2 separate regions of the Homo sapiens genome follow, and region 1 is linked to region 2. The links are contacts of gene promoters, found by promoter capture Hi-C in blood cells and fetal thymus (Javierre and others, 2016). All regions are on one chromosome and are shown on one strand. Each heading gives the region's core, a stretch centred on a gene start or on the middle of the fragment in contact. The rest is flanking DNA. Distances are from core to core; before and after follow the strand shown. Region 1 overlaps LOC105372873 (a long non-coding RNA gene). Region 2 holds the start of RASSF5 (Ras association domain family member 5).

Region 1 (3,971 bases), core at 943-3,442, 360 kb after region 2:
TTTTTTTTTTTCTAAGCTCTCTAGTTGCTTTGAATACTCTTTATATTTGGGACTCTCCCATCTAGTGAGTCTGCCTTTTGAAAATAGAGGCCAAATTTTCCCAGATTCCCTTGAAGTGAGGAAAAATTGTGGCACAGACTCCACCAATCAGTGCTCCTGCATGTGATTTCAGTGTGGAAGACTGAAGTCATGAAGACGGGGTCCTGAGGGAATCCCTTCAGGTGACAGCAGAGAGGCAGCAAAGATACATCCAGTTTCCAGAGAGAATCAAGGCAGGGGCTTGGCATAGCATCCCTGCCCACTATTCGGCCTGTGTTGAGTGGCAGGGACAGCGGTAGCAGTATTGGTTCTGGCTGCTCAGCCTCTATGCTTGGTTTTCTGGTTGTGTCTCCTAGAGATTATGCTAATAGCCTTTTAATACAGTGGTCCTTCAACATTTTATGTGCGCACTCCCAAAACAAATGTAATGAAGCTGGCTTTCTAGAGTGTTCAGGTCATTACACAGTAGTTTACAGCTTAGGAACATTTTGTTCTACATAAGTAAATGTTCTACTGTTAAAAATGTAGTTTAATCTATCTTGTGGAAATAAATAGCAAAAGGAAAGGCAGGTGTTGAAGCTCTGGTAAGTGTGCTGATTACAAAAGATACAGTAATTATTATTTAAGTGCATTATTTTCAGTTGAATTCACAACATATCTCCATTGAATTAATCTAAATCTAGTAAGTACATACTTTGAATGACTAAACCCACAAAGTGGTTGATGAGGAACAGCAGGAGAATGTGTCCAAGTAAAAACTGAGTATGGTTTTATGACATCAATAAGCTTTTGGCCAAAATTAATGACAATTTTTTTACAAGTCTAAAGGAGCATTTATGGAAATATAGAATGCCACTACCTACTTTCAATTGCTTTTGCTAACTTGAAGATATAATGTTGATCTGTTGGAAGTAAATGTGTGACCTCACCTTCTCTTTGAAATAATGCAAAATAGGCAGGGCATAGTGGCTCACACCTGTAATCCTAGCATTTTGGGAGGCTAAGGCAGGAGGATTGCTTGCGCCCAGGAGTTTGAGGCCAGGAGTTTGCAACATAGCTAGACCCCATTTCAAAAAAAAATAAAATAAAATACAGTAAAATAAAAATGTAACAATGCAAAATACTCAGCTGACACATGGGTGAACACAAGTGAAATTTTATAGCATGTTGTTATTCTCTGACATGCTTCAGACAAAATTTAAATATCTTAATTCTAAGATGGATAAAAAGACAGGAAGGAAAGGAGGCAGGGAGGTGGATAAGGCACAGAGTCTTGTCATAAGTTTGTCTCCAGGATGGAATGAGCTCTGGTAAGTTCTGTATTTTGTACTGAGCCTCTCTACTTTGCCCTCTCAGAACTCTCCTATAGTAGCAATGCATTATTTGATCATAATTAGGCAATGCAAAAGGCAAGACCCTTCAACAAAATTTGCCATAATTCCTGCCACTTCACTCCTCAATATACATGAATTCAGGATGTCCCCAAATACCTTGTTTCTATATTATGCTGCACCCTTATCAAAAATATAAAGACAAAAACATGTAGCCTTAGTGTAGGATTACAATTTCTTGACTAAAGGAGGCTTCCATATATTGAGTTGTTCTACAATATCATGCTGCAGGTAATTACACCCCAGTGGAATGCCCCATAATTAAATTCAGGAAGCCTTAAACATGTGATAATCATTTATTCATTCATTCATTTTTAATAAAATGGAGAATGGGAATTGTGAAAGAGGAGGTGGAAATGATGAGACAGTATGACACCTTGACCTCACATATGCAATAAGACATATTAATTTTAAGAAACAGGCTGGGCGCAGAGGCTCACGCCTGTAATTCTAGCACTTTGGGAGGCCAAGGTGGGCGGATCATGAGGTCAGGAATTAGAGACAAGCCTGGCCAACATGGTGAAACCCTGTCTCTACTAAAAATACAAAAAAATTAGCTGGGTGTGGTGGCACACGCCTGTAGTCCCAGCTACTCGAGAGGCTGAGGCGGAAGAATTGCTTGAACCCGGGAGGCGGAGGTTGCAGTGAGCTGAGATTGCGCCATTGCACTGCAGCACTCCAGCCTGGGCAATAGAGGGAGACTCCGTCTCGGAAAAAAAAAAAAAAAAAAAGGCTGGGCACGGTGGCTCACACCTGTAATCCCAGCACTTTGGGAGGCCAAGGCAGGCGGATCATGAGGTCAGGAGATCGAGACCATCCTGGCTAACATGGCGAAACCCCGTCTCTACTAAAAAAAAAAAAAAAAATTAGCCGGGCATGGTGGCGGGCGCCTGTAGTCCCAGCTACTCAGGAGGCTGAGGCAGGAGAACGGCGTGAACCCAGGAGGCGGAGCTTGCAGTGAGCCGAGATCACGCTACTGCACTCCAGCCTGGGCAGCAGAGCAAGACGCGGTCTGAAAAAAAAAAAAAAAAAAAAAAAAGAGTACCTTTGGAATTTAGGAAATTGAAAATTGATTCTCTAAAAAATCTAAGATATGGAACCTGTTCTCCAAGGCTGGAAACTGACAATCCATATGTGAAATCTCAATCTCCAAACACAGAACCTGAAGTCCTATATGAACTCTGAACTTTCAGGAACTGATTTAGGTCTTCTTGGTGTTATTTCTCCTTTTCCAAGCATACAATCTGGTCCTCCACATGAGAAGCCACTGTACAGGTCCAGTGGCTGGACCTCCAAGCATTGAACCTAGGCCTCTAAGCATGAAAACTTGCAACACAGGTATAAAATGTATCCCTTTAAACACAGAACCTGTCCCTCCATATATAAAATCTGACTTTCCAAACATGGAATATCTCTCCAGGTGTGAATCCTTCCTTTCCAGGCATAAAATACGACATGTGTGTGTGTGGAACCTGGGCTTCTATATGTGGATCCTGGGCCGCTAGCATGGAATCAGGCCTTCTAGGCATGCCATAAGTTACTGCTTTATGAAACCTCTTTGTCTAAGTTGGATCATGGTCTTCCGTGGGTTGAACCTGAACCGCAAGTCATGGCGTCTGGCCCATCAGGTATGGAACCTGGCCATCTTCCAGGTGTTCCATGACCCTCCGAGTATGGAATCTGTACTTCTAGAGATGAAACATGGAGTTATGAGCATGAAACCTGATTCAAAGAAATGTAATATGGCTCTCCACTTTGGGAACTTGGCCATCTGTGGGTAAAACCTGAATTTCTGAGTAGAAATGTAGCCTTCCAGGCACTGAATTGACTCTCCATTGGTAAAACCATGCCTCCAGGCACAGAATCTGCCACTCTATGTGTGGAATCCCAATATCCAAACATGGAAGTTGGCTCTACAAGCATGAAATCTGGCACTCCATGTATGGAATCTCAATTTCCAGAATGGATTCTGACCCTAAGAGCATGGAACCTGACACCCCATGTAAGGATCTCTATCTCCAAGCATGAAATTTAAACTTTCAGGAATGGAATGGAACACAATATGTGGAATCTCAATCTCCCCATATGGAACATGGCTTAATAAGTATATTGCTTGGCACTCCAGACATTAAGCTTGTGTCTCAGTCATAGAAGTTGGTCGCCCAAGACATGAAACCTGGTGCTCCCCATGCATGGAAGATGGCACTTCATGTATAGAATCCAAGAATATCCAAGACTGGAAACATGCAACAGTCATGGAACTTGGCATTCCATGAAAGAAATCTCAACCTCTGAGCAGGGAATCTGGCCCCAAAAGCATGTAATATGGCATTCCATGTAGGAAAGCTGGAACTGATTTACGTGTTTTAGATGTGAAGTCTACCTTTCCAAGTATATAATGTAGAAATCCATGAGCCCCAACCCTACAGGCATGGAACTTGAACCTCTGGCCATGACACCTAGACTTCTAAGCATAAATACTTGCTCCTTCTATGTAGAATGTGGCCCTTAAAACATGGAACCTGGCCTTCCCACATGGAT
Region 2 (3,922 bases), core at 531-3,030:
TATTTCCCTGCAGCCAGCTGCAGCGGGCAGCACATTGAACAGCCTCCGCTGCAGACTGCAGGCAGAAAAAGGGTAGGGTTTTCCTGATGTGGAAATCACTGCTGCTGTCCAACGCTGCAGTTGGATGGGAGACGTGAGGCTGCTGCCATAGGGGAAGGGCCTTTGCTGAAAGATGCAAACCACAATCCATTTCCAGAGATGCTTGTTAGAGGCTGTGCCATTGTCTGTGCTTTGGGCTTCAGATATTTGAAATATCCATGTAAACACATGAACACATGGCTGTGGATATCCTCTGATAAACACGCAAGAGCAAATGCCGGGGTGGGGGTGGAGGGTGGACACCTATTAAAGGCATACACACCCCTAACTGTAGGAGGAGAAAAATAATAAACCCCCAAGGAGACTGAAGATTGGCTCAGAAAATCTATACACTGGGGGCCCAGTGTTTTCTGGCTTTGAGAAGCGCCTGGCTCAGGAGGTGACTGGAGGGGCCTGAGGGCTGTGGAGAGGAAGGGACCCTGTCAGGAGCTGAGTAATGTTAGAGCATGACGACTAGGGCAGGAACCCAGGAGGAGGAAGGGGAGGAGGCAGGGCACAGCCAAACATTGGAGCAGAGTCCAAAGGTTTGAGGGGCCAGAGGTGAAAGGCAGGAGGGGGCACGGGTTCAGGGTGACTTCAGGCTCTCTTCAGCCTCACAGCCTGCCTTTATCCAAAATCTAACAAGGTCTCCTCCCTGTCCCAATACGTCCCCCTGGAGGAGAGGTCTGAGCCTGTACCATGGGCGGACAAACAAGCGTTTTGTCAGTAACCCTAATAAGCAAGGGTCAAACGGTCATCTCAACAGCAGTCTCACAACCCACTCCCAAGAACTCACAACAAAACCATGAGGGTGCACAGGGAGATGACAGAGGCCGCCGAGGCCATCACCCACCCACCCCCCACAACCTGTGTGCGAGTGTGTGTGTGTGTGTGTGTGTGTGTGTGTGTGGAGGGCCAAGGCACGCACCTGTCAGGAGACAGGTATCTGTTAACTACCGCATAACCATACCTAGGTAGTGGGCAGGCACTAAAGGATACCGGGCAGGGAACTAAGGAGCGGACTGTCCCCAGGGGTTGTTATCTCCTTATGTTCGGGGCTCCCCTGGAGCCAAAGAGTGTAATGGCCCCTCTCTCCCTGCCCCAGGGCCCTCCCAGTCCTTCGCCCCCAGACTGCGGTCTCCCCGCACGCCCCTCCCCTGCCTTCACACTTACTAGTGCAGCGCAGCGCCTGCCGCAGCACCTCTCGTCCGCACAGGTCACACCAGCCGGGGCCGCCCGGCAGCACCAACTCGGCGAAGCAGTGCCCCTCGCCTCGCTCCGCCGGGACTCTGGGATCCTGCGGCTGCTCGAAGATGCTCCGCACGTCGCGGGGTCGGGGCGCTCCAGGCCGCCGCCGCAGTCTCTGCTGCAGACCAGGCCGGAGCGGGCGAGCGGGTCGGGAGGCCCGGGGCGGGGGCTCCAGGTTCCCCCGGGCAGCCCTCCGGGCGCTGCGCCCCTCGCGCGCCCCGGGCGCAGTGGAGAGGGGCGCCGGGACACAGAGGCGCGAGGACCGGTCGGGGGGCGGCGGCGGTAGCTCGGGGCCGCTCAGGCTCTGTAGATAGCGCGGCGGCTCGGGGTCCAATAGTAGCGGGTACGGGCGCTGCCCGATGGCCGGGGACGCCATGGCCATGCCCGGCTAGTGGCGGCAGCTTTGGCAGCGGCGGCTTTGGCGACTGCGCTACTCCCGAGCCAGCCCCGAGAGAAGGGGCCGCCCCACACCAGCGCGCCTTTAAAGGAACCGCAGCCTGCTGGGCGGGGCGGGGGCGGGGAGAGTCGGAGTGGCAGGAAGGACGACCCAAGAGAACCGCCGACGGACCGAAGGGGGTAGGGTCCGTGCCAGGCGACGTCTGCGCGAGTGTGGATTTGGGGGCGTCTTCACCTGGAGCAGCTGCAGGATTCCGCAGAGGAGCGCCTCTGTACAGTACAGCTCAGAGGGCGCATTTCTGCGGGGGGCCCTAGGCCTTCAGCCCTGCCTCTTTCCCTTGCCAATCACTTTCCCCAACACCAGGTTCACCCCCGACCCGCACCCTCACGCGCCCCGGGAGGGAGCAGGTCGGAGGGAAAAGCTTGGGAACTGGCTCGATGGGGTCTGAGTAGGGCCCCTCCGTCTAGGCGTCCGCTCGCCACTCTCCCGCTGATGGTGCCGACAGGAGGGCCGTGCTCCTTGGCCCTTCCTCTCTCCGGCTTGTCGCCGCCCGCCGCCCCCTCTAGAGCGGAGCTCGACGCGGGTCCGGAATGCCCCGCGCGCGCTCCCGCAGCCGCGCTTTGTCCCGTGGGTGACCGCCGGATGCCTCCAAGGGCTGGCAGAGCTGTCCGCGTGCGACTTTCGCTCTGGTTGGATTTCCCCTTCCTTCGCAGCCCTGCCGGGTAGGGTATTCCTCTTTCCTGGAAGACTGGTGGGGGGTGGAGGGGAGTTGGGGGGGCTCCATTGAGAGAACGCTCCCTCGCCCCAAGGGTTGGGGGAGCTTTTCTTCCTTAGCCAACCCTCCGTTCCCCAGAGCTGCTCTAGTAATTACTGTGGAGATACCAGTTCCCCTAAATGCCCTAAGTGGAACCTGGTATGGATGGTTCACTCATGGGACCCAAAGAGAGATCTCCTTTCTCCCGGCACTTTCCCCCGTGAAGGCTTGCTTCAAGCCTTCATGGACCCTTGTCTGGTTTAACGCTCTGCGGTCACCATCTTGAAAGTCTTACTTTTTGAACAAAGGGCCAGGCGTTTTCTTTTTGCACTGGTTCCCACAAATTATGTAGTTGTTCCTGACAGGCACCTTTGCCCATGGAAACAGGCCCATCTTATGGATAAGGAGGACTCCTGGATCTCTGAACCTGGGCCTGGGCCCTGGCCCTCTCTAGCCCCAGTATTGTTAACTGTACATTGGGCTGGAGGTGGGGAGACAGGTGGTTGTTAACGTGGCACTCTCCAGCTCCGTCATTATGACTCAGTGATCACAGCTTTCCTCTTAAAACACAGGTTCGGTTTGGTCCGTCTAGCGGTGGTCATTTTTTAGAAGAATAGTCTAAATTCTTCTGGACCTGGTCTCTCCCTTCTCTTCCCAGGCCAGAGATGGGTCTCCCCCTAGTGCTTCGTAGGGGAATCTTCACTTTTGCTTTTTGTTTTTCCCTTGGAGGTAATTTTTAGGTAATTCCTAAGATTTCCAGAGTCCAGTGGCCAGGGAATTCCCAGCCAGCTTTGCTCCATGGCTTCTCCCTCACGGTAATCATAGTCCTCTGCCTCCCAAATCTGTAGCAGAAGAGAGGTTCCTGGGGCTCTGGGGGCTCACCAGAGGCGGGAGCTCACCCTATGAGGTGGTTTCTGAGGAATGACCCATGGGACAGTCAACCCCACAGTGCTACCAAACAGAGGAGCTCCGATGAGGGGTGTAAGCCACAGGCCACCGCCTCTGCCCCACCCCTCCTCTACCTTTCCTCTTCCCTCTCCTAACCTTGCTTTTGCTACATCAGTGGTTTTCAAACCTTGGTATGCATCACAGTCATCTGGAGGGCTTGTTAAGATTATTGGGCTTCATCCCCAAAGTTTCAGAATCTATAGGTCTGGGGCTGGGGTTTGAGATGGCTCATTTTGAGCAAGTTCCCAGGTGTTGATGCTATTGATCCAGGGACCCAACTTGGAAAACCATTGCTCTAGGTCTGAGGTGGTGATTCTGAGAATGGGCTTCTCTGTTCCTTCTCCCCAGGACAAGTGTACTTCAGTGGACCTGACAGATAAAAGCCCAATGAGGGCTATTCCTGAATACTTTCTGCTGAAGGTGTAAAAGGGAAAATACAATTTGCCCTTGTGGTCTCTTATTTTAATCTCCCACTTTTTCTGCAAGCAGTTCTCTTG

What was found. Contacts are between HindIII fragments. The CHiCAGO score rates a contact against its expected background, and 5 or more counts as called.
Region 1: a contact is called between a fragment that was not itself captured here and the fragment with the promoter of RASSF5 in region 2, in 1 of 17 cell types (endothelial precursors). The highest score is 5.2, in endothelial precursors.

The regions. Positions count from the first base shown.
Region 1 is chr1:206,150,120-206,154,090 of GRCh38, reverse strand. All of the region lies in intron 1 of LOC105372873 (a long non-coding RNA gene), which reads right to left. Among named protein-coding and RNA genes, the nearest start is that of AVPR1B-DT, 34 kb to the right of the region's middle. The HindIII fragment of the contact is 2,738 bases long and covers 824-3,561 here.
Region 2 is chr1:206,505,389-206,509,310 of GRCh38, reverse strand. It overlaps RASSF5 (Ras association domain family member 5), which reads right to left and starts at 1,780. Exons shown (of 6, transcript NM_182663.4): 1 at 1,252-1,780. The coding sequence starts at 1,708. LOC124904493 (a long non-coding RNA gene) reads left to right here and starts at 1,904. Exons shown (of 2, transcript XR_007066830.1): 1 at 1,904-2,445. RefSeq lists silencers at 1,375-1,464, 1,505-1,864, 2,115-2,164. The HindIII fragment of the contact is 3,877 bases long and covers 1-2,146 here.